Linked DNA regions of Homo sapiens: region 2 is linked to region 1. The links are contacts of gene promoters, found by promoter capture Hi-C in human tissues and cell types (Jung and others, 2019). All regions are on one chromosome and are shown on one strand. The core of a region is centred on a gene start or on the middle of the fragment in contact, and the rest is flanking DNA. Distances in the headings are between cores, read along the strand shown. Region 1 holds the start of TRIM55 (tripartite motif containing 55). Region 2 overlaps CSPP1 (centrosome and spindle pole associated protein 1).

Region 1 (7,133 bases), core at 2,346-4,845:
GCAGGGAGCAAGAAAGAACAGAGAGAAAAAAAAAGAGAGAGAAAGGAAGATAGAGATCAGCTCTGTAATCCCAGAGTTTTGGGAGGCCAAGGCAGGAGGATGGCTTGAAATCAGGAGTTCAAGACCAGCCTGGGCAACATAGCAAGACCCTTGTCTCTGCAAAAAATTTAAAAAATTAGCTGGGCATAGTGGTACACGCCTGTAGTACCAGCTACTCAGGAGGCTGAGGTGGGGGGATTGCTTGAGCCCAGGAATTTGAGGTTTCAGTGAGCTATGATTGCGCCACTGCACTCCAGTTTGGGCAACAGAGTGACCCTCTGTCTCTTAAAAGAAAATTCTGTTTCAGAGGTTTTTGTTTTTTTCTACAAATACTGCTAAATTAGGTTATGAACCCCACTCACTTATAGAGGGCAGAACTGAAATCCTCCTAGGTGAAGTCACTTTCCAAGACCACAAAGGGAGGTAGATGCAGAAGCTGGGAGAAAGCCTGACTGTCTCTGACTCACTCTGCAGCCTCTCACTACATCGTCGGTTACTCAGGCTCAGGCATCTGAGTCATCTGTGTGGATTCTACTTTCATAGCAGCCCCAGGGATCATTTCCTCCTTTCCTTCCCCACTGCCATGACCTGTGCCAGGGCTTCGCGACCTCTCACCTGGACTATTGGCAACAGCCTCTGATCTGGTTTTTAGCCAGCCACCTTCATGCTAATCTAACCCAATCATCGCTGAAAGATCAATCTAACCAACCACTGCTCTCACGGAAGTGTCCAGTGAGAAACTTTTAACGACTTCCTGCTGCTTAACTTATTAAGTGTTAAAAACTCTTTAGCACAGTATCCATGGCCAGCCAATGCTTGAGCGCGTGCCTGCACTCCAGCTCAAGCCACCGTGGCTCTGAGATCCCCTGCATGCCTGTGCATGCCCATGTTGCTGCTTCTGTGCCTTCTCTTGGAAAGCCCCAGCCATGCCCCACCTAACTACACGTCCATCCCTCTGAGATCCTCGGTGCAGCAGTTCAAACACTACCCCCACCCATGAAGCCCTTCTGATTCCTCTGACCCTGAAATGCTGTAGCTGTTGTGAAAGGAAAATAAATATTGGTATCCCAAAATCATTAAGCCAAAGGGAAAAGTCAAGCTGGGAACTGCGTCAGGCAAACCTGCCTCCCACGTTATTCCTAAATAAGATAGCTACAAAGATTTAAACGCTACATACCTCCCTTACAATTTGCACACTGGGAAATTCCTTATAGGCCCCAATATCTTTACCCTAAAACAGTTTTGTTGAATTTTACCCTGACAGTGTAAATTGACAGCTTATCTTCACAGGCATGGTACGAAGGACAGAACTCTAAGTCATCTCTCTGCTCACCTGAGACAAATGCATATCTGCTTTCTTCCTCTAATGTAAAAATGCAGACTCACTGAGCTAAAGGAAGACATAAATGACTATTATTCCTCTACCCACCGCCCAGCCCCAACATGTAAATTATGTATTTGGTGAAAGGCTGATCAAAGACTCAGAAGAATGCAACTGTTTGCCTCTTATCTACCCACAACTGAAATTTTTTTTCTCTTTCCCCAATATCCATTCTTTTCCCTTTAAATATTAAAGCCTTCGAAATCTTCTTTGGAGAAAGATGCAGGCCTGCCTCCTGGCACGCGCCCTTAACCTTGACAAAACAAACTTTCTCGATTGAGACCTGTCTCAGGTACTTTTTGGCTTGTACTCTTTATCACATTTTATTTTGTACTATGTTCTGTGTGTGCATGTCTCATCTCCACTCTTATACTGAGCTCCTTGAGGCCAATGACCTATGTCTTGTTCATCTTTCAATACCCAGAGCCTCACACAATGGAGACACACTACACATATCCAATGAATGTATTTTGAAGGAATGAATTCCTTCTAAAAGAAAAGACTCTGCTGCAATGTGCATGATTAGTCTAAGTGCTTTTACTTAGATAGCAAGGTCTTTTGCAGTAGAAACTTAATCTTTCCTAGAAAATATCCCACATATTGTACTCAGACCTCCCCTCCATAGCCCATGAATTGATAAACACAATTAACTGCCTAGGCTGGGTGAACCAAAGTAACTCAGTAAAAAAACTTTACCAGTTCCCGTCCTCCCTGTAGTTGCTAAATAAATATTGAAAGGACTAAGATAATTCTCTAAAGATCCCTGATATGCTTATGAATATATATAACTTATTATTAGTTAATAGAGCTTACTAGATTCTCAATAAGCTCTCCGTGCACACAGCACTAAGACCACACATAACTGACCTACACTTCACTGGTAATTTAATTCACACCAGGGATATGTTAACAAAATGTGTTTATTGCCCAAGGTTTTTAAAATGAAGGAGAAAGAAAGCCGAAATTTATCACATATAAACAGACTTGGATTTCTTTTTTATTTTTGATCTGATTTAAACATTTTTAAATACAATATGTATTGGTTAAACTGTTGCTTCACAAAATCCTGATGAATGTCAGAATCGATGTTTATGACTCAAGAGCAGACCAAGAATATCAGAAATGACCAGAGAAACTATGGTTTAACAAGTCACCTTGGAGGAAGGGGAAATGCAAGGGAGAATAGGTATTTTGGAGGCAGATGAAATGCAGATATGGAAGTAGGACTCCATTTATACTTCAGTTGTCAATGGCACTGGTAACTGTCCCCCAAGGGATGACAAAATAAAATAATAGATCTGCCACCTCCAGGTGCCTGCCAGTTACTACCTCATTACAGATTATTGTTGCAAACTATTATATAATTTAAGAATTTAAATAATCAGTAAAAGACTATCAAATTTTCTTTGTGTTTTTGGGTGTATGTAGGAGGTGGGGCAGTATAGGATGAAAGAGGGCCAAGGAAGAGGAAAGCAATGTGGAAGAGCAAACAGCATACTAGAGTTGTTTTATAATGTAACTTTTTTCTCAAATAATTAGATCATCCACTGGTTTTGAATTTTTATTTATGCATGTATTTATTTATTTATTAGGTGGATACCTTTATGGTGAAGGGATTTGAATTTAGCTTTTAAATTGGAATTTTTCAAAGACCACAACCCCAGCTGACAAAGATGAAATACTTAACATTAAGAAAGTCTTTTTGATGATTGCCTTTGTGAAGCCAGGATAACAATTTTCGAGACATGTTTTGTTCATTTTCACCTAAGAAGGTGCTATTAGGCTACTTTCCGTGACTCAATTCCTACACTCTCAAGACAGGGCTGGCATTAGTTACACAGACTCTGTGCTGCGTTCTGCCCCTTCCTGGAGAAGCCATCGCCAAGTTCTCAGTGAGTGCTCACAGAGGGCATGGTTCAGTGGCTAGGCATGCACATTTGCATTTGTTGTTGACAACTGTCAGCTTCGACCTCCTTCTCCTCACAACCCCGTCTAAATGGGGTTTGTAATCCTCCTTCCCACCCACTCTCTTCACTCCCTGGGGCAAGAATGTTGACTCCTGCTCTCCGTCACCTGTCAGGATCCATCCTCCTGTCACTGGCTTATATGGACACGTCAGCCCACCGTCACGTGACCGCAGGCTGCTAAAAACAGCTCCAGCACCCACTCCAAACCAGGGCCTGAAACAATGTCCTCCACCGAGAGAAACGTAAAGGACACTTGATCACACAATCCCTGGAATAATATCCAGGAAACACTTGCTGGAGCCACTCGCAGCACCCTTCCCTGGCAGCACACTTGGGGACAGCGAGGAGATGAGCGCATCTCTGAATTACAAATCTTTTTCCAAAGAGCAGCAGACCATGGATAACTTAGAGAAGCAACTCATCTGTCCCATCTGCTTAGAGATGTTCACGAAACCTGTGGTGATTCTCCCTTGTCAGCACAACCTGTGTAGGAAATGTGCCAGTGATATTTTCCAGGTAGGTTTGTTTGGAATTTGGTTGAGGGGAGGGGGTGGAAAAGATTCCCTCCTCTTGGAATCAAGTGCTTAACATTGAGGTGAAATCCTTTAAAAAACTTTATAAGGTTGCCGGGCGCTTTGGCTCACGCCTGTAGTCCCAGCACTTTGGGAGGCTGAGGCCAGTGGATCACCTGAGGTCAGGCCTTCGAGACCAGGCTGGCCAACATGGCAAAACCCCATCTCCACTAAAAATACAAAAAAAAAAAAATTAGCTGGGCATGGTGGCGGGCACCTATAATCTCAGGTACTTGGGAGGCTGAGGCAGGAGAATTGCTTGAACCCAGGAGGCGGACATTGCAGCGAGCGGAGATCGTGCCATTGCCCTCCGGCCTGGGCAACAGAGCAAGACTCTGTCTCAAAAAAAGAAAAACAAACAAACAAAAAAACTTTATAAAGTTGCATTTACTTTCAAGAAAAACACGTTTCTTTTAATGATTTGGTTTGTGTCCTCTTTACTCCCAAATCTAGTTTTATTTTAATACTAAGAATCATATTTTTTTTTAAGTCAAACCATTTAATGTGTTTCAAAACTATAAATGAGTAACTGCTGAAGACATGAGTGTGGAGTTTCTGGCTGGAACTTTTGGTTCTGAAAGTGGTGGACGGAAAAGCACCTTACGTGGACAATGGTATATTCGCAGATGACTGTGGATAAGGTCTGACCCTGTGTTTCAGGACCACTTGCTGAGAAAGCCCTGAGGGATGATCTTATGGCAAGCTTAAAGTAGAAGTTCATGTTGTTTGTAGTAGCAGAGAGTGAAAATAAGTCTCAGAGAAGCTGCTTGTGGCATTACCCAATTCCTTTTTTCTTACTTGGCAAGAACAGGCCTCTAACCCGTATTTGCCCACAAGAGGAGGTACCACCATGGCATCAGGGGGCCGATTCCGCTGCCCATCCTGTAGACATGAAGTGGTTTTGGATAGACATGGGGTATATGGACTTCAGAGGAACCTGCTGGTGGAAAATATCATTGACATCTACAAGCAGGAGTCCACCAGGTAACACTCTTCCACTCTTCCATGTGTCAAGCCCATCTGAAACTTGTTTTTGTTTGTTTGTTTTAATGGGTTGCTACGCTGAATGCTTGTTTATCAATCACAGACTGTTTTATGGAAAAATGGTTTTCCAAGTCAGTCCTTCCCAGTGAGACTGAGAGTTGCTCACAGCAGGAGAGAGGGGAGTTGGTGCCCATGCTTTTGTATCAATTTAAGAATGAAGTGACTCATTAACACCAATCCATTCCAGATGGTGATGCTGAAAGAGACATACTGCTGTCCCCCTCCACCTTAAAGCCTGGTATTACATCCATTTTACACATTTTGCACTTCACAGGCACTTTGTAGCTCCAGATCCCTACAAAGCAAAGAAAAAAAAATCTAGTAAATACTTAATAGAAAATTAATAGAAATGGCATCTTCCGAAGTAGCCCAGTTCCTAGTTCAGACAGTCTTGCCTTAAAATTGTTTGGATGATAATAAAAACAAAATCCTCTAACATAGGTTGTCACTGTATTTACTCTAAGGGAAGTCACAAAGCAAGGCAAAACCCTGGCCTTTAGGGACTTAAACTTCAGAGCCATGAGGAAAAAAAAGGGTGAAATTCAGGTTATGTTTCCCTATTCCTTATACTGTATTTACTGCATAGTCAGCATTCACTTGTTGATTGTGAATAACATCGTGATAGCATTATATATCTATCCATTCATTTTTAAAAAATAACAAAAAAGGCTTCTTATTCACCAAACCACATTGGCTATAGAATTCCTTTCCTAGACACAATGCTGCGGGAAGCTTATTCCTAGAAGGCACGGTGTGAAGAGCCCCTTTTCAATTGTGTGCAGGTCAGTCCAGTCCACAAAGCTTGATAGCAATATTGAGACCATCTAGAAATGGCCTCATTGTGATTCCATTAGGGGACACGTATTTATGGAACATCTGCAGAGCTCTAAGAGGCTTGTGCTCTTGGAAGGAAAGCTGTTCTATAAATCTAACATAATTATTATAATTATTATAGCTATTAATTTCCGCTAAAGATCCAAAACTAAATTAGACAGTACCAGGATCTAGATGGGTTTGGGGAAGAATTGCTGATGACATATTGCAGAGATTGCAGCTGGCTGTTTCCCTTGCTTCCAAAGTCTCTTGACAAGAACAAAAGTACTATTGCTGTTGCTGTTACTTTACAGATTTGATCTCATTGTATTTCACTACTTTAAAATACAAATACACACTTGTCTCTTAAAAACTTAACCAGCCAATTAAAAACCAATTAATTATGAGATTGATGCAAAAGTAATTGCGATTTTTGCAATTACTTTTCATGGCCAAAACAGCAATTACTTTGCCACCAACCTAATATTAAGAGAGTTTATATAACAAGAGTTTCAGTGCTAGTCCAGTGTCTTGCACAGAATAGTTGCTCCATAAATCCCAGCTGATTAAGCAATACCACAAATATTCTTACGTAACAAGTTTCAGAGCTAGTACAGTGCTTTGCACAGAATAGTTGCCCCATAAATCCCAGCTGATTAAGCAACACCACAAATATTCTTTCATGTTCTATTTATTGCAATAAATTTATGTTTTGTTACTTGTCACAGTGGGAACTTGAGACATGAAAAAATAGCAATACTTGTTATGAAATCCAGAGAAGAGATGTTAAAACTTGCAGTATTGGTAAAACTACAAAACACATCTTCACCTTAGCTATGAAGTTGGCTTGGTGCAGCTGCCAAAAATAGTACCCAGGCCTGGGAAGTAAATTGCGTAAAAGCAATGAACCAAATTTCCAACAATAAAGCTCATAGTTGAGTGAACTAGGGATGCTTTTGTGATTTTCTGTGATTTTGTTATGCTGTTTTTTCTTGAACTTGAGACTTTCCTGTGGGACAATTTTACTTGGTAGCAAAACCACAAGTTGCACAGAGCACTTGGCCACATGTCTGGGAGGAAACGCAGTTGTCCCCTGGGGGCAGACAGCCTTACTAGACCAGAATCTTGAGCCTCAGGGTACATTAGGTAACACTGGAATGACCTTGGATATACAGAATGAAAAGAGTTCAGCTGTGGCTATTGGAAGGGGGTCGGGGGGGGTGACCAATCACAGACTGGGATGTTGTCAGTCAACTCTGACCTCCTCCAGAAAGGCTGGAGACTGTAAGTCTCCACAAAACCTAGCATTCTTTTTTT
Region 2 (7,133 bases), core at 1,902-4,401, 1.0 Mb after region 1:
TCTTTTATTCAATTCTAGTTTGTATTCTGTTTTGTAAGAGAATATACTTTTCTTTTTTTTTTTTTTTTTTGAGACAAGGTCTCACTCTGTCACCCAGGCTGTAATGCAATGGCACGGTCATGCCTCACTGCAGTCTCAACCTCCCTGGCTAAAGTGATCTTCCCGCCTCAGCTCCCCCAAGTAGCAAGGACTACAGACACATGCTACCATGCCCAGCTAATTACAAAATTTTTTTTAGAGACAGGGTCTCACTTTTTTGCCCAGCTGGTCTCAAACTCCTGGCCTCAAATGATCCTCCCACCTCAGCCTCCCGAAGTGTTGAGATTACAGGCATGAGCCACTGCGCCCAGCTGGAGAGAATATACTTTTAATGACTTCAGTGTTTTTAAGTTTGTGAGATTTGTTTTATGAGCCATCAGTTAGAATTTTACTCTATAAGTAAGTGTATATATTTTAAATTAGGTTAATTTTGATATATGTATTGTTAGTAGTGCTAGGGTTGGGAATTTTGCTTAGCTCTCTGAATTAGGTCATTATAAAAGAGTTTCTGTGTCAGCCATGAATTGCTGAATAATCCTGGGTTTATAGTAACATTTAACATATCTCAGCCCTTCACAAAATATATTTTGATATGTATTTTCCACCAAAGTATAAAGAGTAGCAGCTAACTTGTGAAGTTAATTAAAATTAATTTTTTTATAATGAGCTAATTCACTCAGTGAGGAGCACGTAAGTGCTCCTAATTTTATATTGAATGTTATGATGATTTACATTTAAAATAAAGTCCTATCTTTGCAGTTGACAAATTACACTCTTGACCAAAGTGCCTTTTTTAATTTTCGTTTTTTAGCTGATTTCAAATCATTTATTTTACCATCTCACAGAAAGACAGAAAAGGAGTGGCCAGTTGCCAAATCATTTTTCCCAATAAAAAGCAATATGGATTTGGTTTGCTTGCTAAATCTGATAGTCTTAAATCTTAATAATTATGTACTCTGATGAAATTAATTTTCTCTTAATATAAATATGTTGAATATTATTCCAGTTGAGAAGTCCATATATAATCAACAATAAATTATAATGTGTTATCGAAGTTTGCTTACATATAGGGTATCTCCTAATGTATGGTTTGTGCAGGTGACTATCAAACTAAGATTGCATTCCCTAAGCACTCACTAGTTTGGCAACACAGCTGTAGATTATTTCAAGAATATCTATCTGCCTTGCCAGTCCTTGGCACTTGGGAATTTTCTTGCAGTCACCTTTTTCTGTGGTTTCACCCAGTCCCTTCTCTTTGCATTTTTTCTATTTATTTCTTCTTTCTACCTCTGAACATGCTTAGGTCACTTGTATTAAAACACAGACAAATGCTTCCTTTACCATATAAAACACATTCAAAAAGTAGTCCATGCTTGTTGCTGTCACTTCTTACCACCCTCTTATTGGCTATTTTTCCATAGTATAACATCTAGCTTGTACCCCCGCGCCCCACCACCCCATGCCACATTGTCAACAAAAAGCCTGATGACCTAATTTCAATTTAATGATTTTTACTCATCTTTTATCTTCTTTGAACTGGCTTGACAGTTCCTTTTTTTCTCTAAGTCCTTTGTATCCTCCGAGATGCTGTCCAGACTTCAGCTAATATTTTTTGGATGTGCATTATGAACTAGAGTTAGACTCTGCTAGGTTTGTGAGCATGATCTTTCTTCTAAGGACTGTCATCTGACCTTGTGTGTTTCTCATCCCTTCATCCATTCTCTTCCATGTCATCTCTTTTACTCCTGTGTTACTCTTTAGGTCTTCCCTACAGATTGATCTTTAAATCTTTTTCTTTGCCCTCAACCATTTTTATTTTTATTTTTTTTGAGACAGTCTCACTCTGTCACCCAGCCTGAAGTGCAGTGGTGTAATTTTGACTCACTGCAACCTGCACCCCCCCGGCTTAAGTGATCCTCCCACCTCAGCCCCCCAAGTAGCTGGGACTACAGGTACATGCCATCATGCCCAGCTAATTTTTGTATTTTCAGTAGAAATGGGATTTCACCATGTTGCCCAGGATGGTCTTAAACTCCTGAGCTCAAGTAATCCACCCTCTTTGGCCTCCCAAAGTGCTGGGATTATAGGTGTGAGCCACCACGCCCGGCCAGACTAATATATTAATCCCACTTCTGTAACAACCACAACTGCCTCCATTACCTTCTACAGAACAAAATTGAGAGCCATTGACATGTGTTTTAGGATATTGAAGAATAGGTATCCATTCTATGGTTTCCAGTCTTATTTGCCATTGCTCTATTACATGTGCTTTATGCTCTAGTCTAGCTGGACTACTTTAATGTTGCCAGAACACTCATCATGCTTTACCCACTTGGAGTGCTTTCTCACATTGTTCTATTTCTCTATTATGCTTTCCTACTTATCTTCATCTGTGAAGCTCCTATACATTTTCCAAGTCCAAGCTGCCCTAAATATTGTAACAGAATGTGAACCTTCCTGATTCTGAACTCCCATTCTCTTTTGTAGCATTTATGTATTACTTGCCATGTTCTATCTGGAATTCTAATTGTGATTCATGTTCAAAATACATTCTTGAACATAACAGGCTTCCTGATAAATACTTCTTATATCCAGGTTTAAGTTCACTTTCAGTGCTGCCATACTGTTGCAGTTTTTTGGTTTGTTTGTTTTATGGAAAACAGGTACTTTTTATTTTATTAAAGCTTTAAGTTCTGTAATCATTCAGTTCTGTTTTTGAGATTGGTTGTTTGACCCAATTCTAGGTGCTCAGATTTTTGCTGTGTGTATTAGATATCTATTCTATGTAATGAATTAACCCAAAACTTGGTGTTTTAGCATGATAAACAGTTATTATCTTGCGGTTCTGAGGGTTAGAAATTTGTGAGTGGTTTAGTTGGGTGGTTCTGTCTCAGGCTCCCTCATAATGTTGGAGTCCAAGATGTTGACCATGGCAGTAGTCATCTGAGGCTTGATGGGGACTGTAAGATTCATTTTCAATATGGCTCCCTCACATGGCTCAGGAGGCCTTAGTTCCTTGTCATATGGGCCTCTCCATAGGGCTCCCTTAGTGTCCTTATGGTATGGCAGTTGGCTTTCTTCAGAGTGAATGATCCATAGATAAGCAAGGTGGAAATAATTTCTTTTATGAGGTAGCCTCAGAAGTCATATACCATTATTTCTGCAATATGCTAGTCATAAGAAGTGAGTTATTAACTCTGGACACCACTGAAGGGGAATGGAATTTAGCTTTACCCTTTGAGGGAGGATTGCCAAGTAATTTGTGAATATATTTTAAAACTCCACTCCACATAATTATGTGTTATTAGGAGACCGATGACAGGTAAATTACACTATGAGTTGTTTTAAATTGTTGCTATATTTTTTCTATATTAAAGAAATTCTAAGTTCTGAAGTAACATAGATACTGTTAATATGGTTTTTATGTTTTGTTAAAGATTTATGTGTCCTTAATTTATCTACTAATTGAGATTATTTTTAAGGATTATTTTTTGAAAATCTTAAAAGTTTTGATAATTTTGTTTCTCTTTTCAGGGCACCAACATATCATTGAATTATTCCCAACTTTGTCCTATTGTTTTTCTTTCTGACTTCCTATTTTAAGAAAATATATTTTGCATGCCAATTACAGAAATGTGTTTATTGAAATAAATGGCTTATTTTTTCCTCTCAGCTGATTTGAATAGGATGCACAGACAAAATATAGATGCCTACCATAACCCAGATGCAAGAACATATGAAGATAAAAGGGCTGTTGTATCTCTAGACCCAAATTTAGCCACTTCAAATGCTGAGAACCTAGAAGATGCTGCAAATAAAAGCTCAGGTTTTTAATCACTTTTTTTTTTTTTTTTTTTTTTTTACATTTCTGAAATTGTTCAGTAACATTTCTGTTCTGTGACTAAGTTCTTATTGGGATCTTGAGAATTTGGCTATCCTGATACAGGAAACATAACACACTATTCATAAAGTGCCTTTTCTTCATAGTTACTTTGAAAAAAGGTGAATAGGGAAAGGTTACTTCTTCCTACTGTGTTTCTTCTCAGCTTTGTAACTTGCTGTGTATCCTTTAGCTGCTGCTAACATTTTTATTTTGCTAGTGGGGGACATTTCTTAATATCAAACACTCTTTTTACACACATACACAATTTGCATCTTATATCCATAGCTGTTTGAATTAGTGAAACAGTATCATTGTGATATGATAAATTGTACAGGGAAATTCATTTTTTACTTGTTTTAGTAATCATTTACCCTCCCTTGTAAAACAACAGTGTACAAAGAAATGAAGCAATGTTGTTTTTTTTTTTGTGAGATGGAGTCTCACTTTGTTATCCCAGGCTGGAGTGCAGTGGCATAATCTCAGCTCACTGCAACCTCCACCTCCTGGGTTCAAGCAGTTCTCTACCTCAGCCTCCCAAGTAGCTGGAATCACAGGTACCCACCACCACACCTGGCTAATTTTTGTATTTTTAGTAGGTATGGGGTTTCACCATTTAGCCAGGCTGGTCTCGAACTTCTGACCTTGTGATCCATCCGCCTCCACCTCCCAAAGTGCCGGGATTACAGGCGTGAGCCATCGCCTGGTTACATGCCTCTTAACTACTTATCTTTGATTTACTATTAATATCCTTTAATCAATTCTGAAAGATGAAAATTATTCAATTATCTTTTTTTGACATACCAGGAAAAGTTGTCAGGTATGTTAAATTGTGTTATATATTTAAAAATAAAATTTAATACAGCACCTCACACTATATTTTGATGCCTATAAAACTGGCCATTTATTCATTACAAAATTCTACTTTGTGCTTTCACAGAAGTTTTGATTTTAGATTAGAAAAGAACTTTTCATTAGGAAGTTCTAAAATATTTGTGACTGATCATGTAGTCTTTTTTGTTTTTAACCCTTATTTTTGGCTAAACAGATAAGTGAAGTGGGGAGCTGTGATTAGAGTCATAGCCCTGCATCTTTCAAGGCTTTGATGGTAGCACACTTATCTGTAGCCTTTTTGAACAGTTTAAGAGATGGATTATTTACCGTTTTCATGGGCAGCTTGTACCAGTGTTTTCTAATTATGAGAAAATGCTTTCTTTGTTCTACAATATATTTTATCGGATCCAGTTTTGATTTTTAGAGCACTAAAATTGGAACCTTTGATTTTGACAATATTATTGATTTGGCTCTTTTAATTTGTAATAGTGTGTGGTAAGAACATCACAACACCTTTTCATATTATTGCTGCTAAGAGAATTTTGACTTATTTCTGATATTTTTCTCATTTGCTGCTGCTTCTAGTAGTCTGTATTGAGATCTCATTGCCATACAGAGTCTTTCTCTACCCTTTTCTTCCATACCTGGTATTGTTTGTAGTTCTGGCTCAGCCTAGAACTTTCGCTATCTTAGTAATAACACTTTTTAGCCATCTAGCTTTGCACACCAAGCAAAAACACCAGAAAATCAACAGTTCCCATGATCCCTTCCCAAAAGCATAAGCCTGATGATTAAACATGCACAGCAAAATTTGTTGCCTATAGCCTTTCTGTACCACTGCCAGGTTTTTATGCTGATATTGTTGCCAAGATGTTCTGTTTTAAGAATTGAGTAAAAAAAAAACCATAAAATGTTTAAAACTTCCTTTTTTTTGTGAATTGAAATTCCCAAATTAGACTTTTCTTCCCTAAGAATGAATTAATTGGCTGGGTGCAGTGGCTCACGCCTGTAATCCCAGCACTTTGGGAGGCTGAGGCAGGCGGATCATGAGGCCAGGAGATCGAGACCATCCTGGCCTACATGGTGAAACCCCGTCTCTACTAAAAATACAAAAATTAGCTGGGCGTGGTGGCATGTGCCTGTAGTCCCAGCTACTTGGGAGGCTGAGGCAGGAGAATTGCTTGAACCCGGGAATAGGAGGTTGCAGTGAGCTGAGATCACGCCACTGCACTCCAGCCTGGTGACAGAGTGAGACTCCATCTCAAAAAAAAAAAAAAAAAAAAGAATTAATTAATCTAAAATAAACTTTCTCAATACAAGAAATGATTCAAAGCCACCTAATTTTGTGCTATGCCATATATATGTGTATGAGTGCATGTATGTGTATGTATGTACACACAGACACACATATCTTTGCATATATGTAGCATTTGATATTTTAAAAGCCTGAAGGAACTTGAATATAGCTGAAAATTGAATGTTACAACATGTGTTTAAGTTTCCTTATCCTCTAATATTTTATCTTCATTAGGTTTGTTTCTGATGCCCTTTATAATGTTCATTATTTTTTCTTTTATTTTATGGTTTTTAGATGAGCTATGGCTTATGAAGTCTAATACGAATTTGGCTTAAATTTATTTTTTTGGCTTATTATCATGCCAAGATACATTTCTGCTTTCTTTGTATATAGCAAGTGTTTCCCTATGATTTTCCTTTTATAGTTTATTCATTTCTAAAAGGACTTCTCTTGTCTGTCTCTAATAATATTTCTTCTCTAATTGCCCCAAAGGTTTAGAATAGGAGTGAGCATCACGGTGAAACATGCTACTCAAGTTTGTTTTGCTAATCAGCTTTTCCACCACAGCATAAAATTTAAAAGAGCCTTCAAGGTGTATATTTAGTTTGTTTTCAGTGGGAAAATTTTCTAGAGGGAAAAAGTATTCATAATGTTTAAGTATTGATTTGGCTTTCTGCCAGTCTGTTCAAATAAGCATTAATAAATTTAAATACAAAAGCAAAATAGACCTGAGTGGTAGCTGAACTGCAAAGCAATTTGCCTATACAAAACTACATGCGAGAAATACATGCTTTAGGCTGGGCACGCTGGCTCACGCCTGTAATCCCAGCACTTTTGGAGGCCGAGGCGGGCGGATCATCTGAGGTCAGGAGTTAGAGACCAGCCTGGCCAATGTGACGAAATCCCGTCTCAACTAAAAATACAAAAAAAAATTAGCCAGGCATGGTGGCACACGCCTGTAGTCCCAGCTACTTGGGAGGCTGAAGCAGGAGAATAGCTTGAACCTGGGAGGCAGAGGTTGCAGTGAGCCGAGATCATGCCACTGCACTCCAGCCTGGGTGACAGAGCAAGACTCTGTCTCAA

What was found. The method cuts DNA at HindIII sites, captures the fragments that hold promoters and counts their contacts. A contact is called where the count stands out against the background at its distance.
Region 2: a contact is called between a fragment that was not itself captured here and the fragment with the promoter of TRIM55 in region 1, in 1 of the 25 tissues and cell types used here (mesenchymal stem cells).

What each region holds. Positions count from the first base shown.
Region 1 is chr8:66,123,534-66,130,666 of GRCh38, forward strand. TRIM55 (tripartite motif containing 55) reads left to right here and starts at 3,596. Exons shown (of 10, transcript NM_184085.2): 1 at 3,596-3,903; 2 at 4,771-4,943. The coding sequence starts at 3,736. RefSeq lists enhancers at 1-1,184, 296-861, 389-448, 789-1,038, 862-1,426 and a silencer at 3,142-3,414. The HindIII fragment of the contact is 11,068 bases long and covers 1-5,198 here.
Region 2 is chr8:67,146,071-67,153,203 of GRCh38, forward strand. It overlaps CSPP1 (centrosome and spindle pole associated protein 1), which reads left to right. Exons shown (of 31, transcript NM_001382391.1): 18 at 3,713-3,865. Among named protein-coding and RNA genes, the nearest start is that of CSPP1, 85 kb to the left of the region's middle. The HindIII fragment of the contact is 6,758 bases long and covers 1-6,530 here.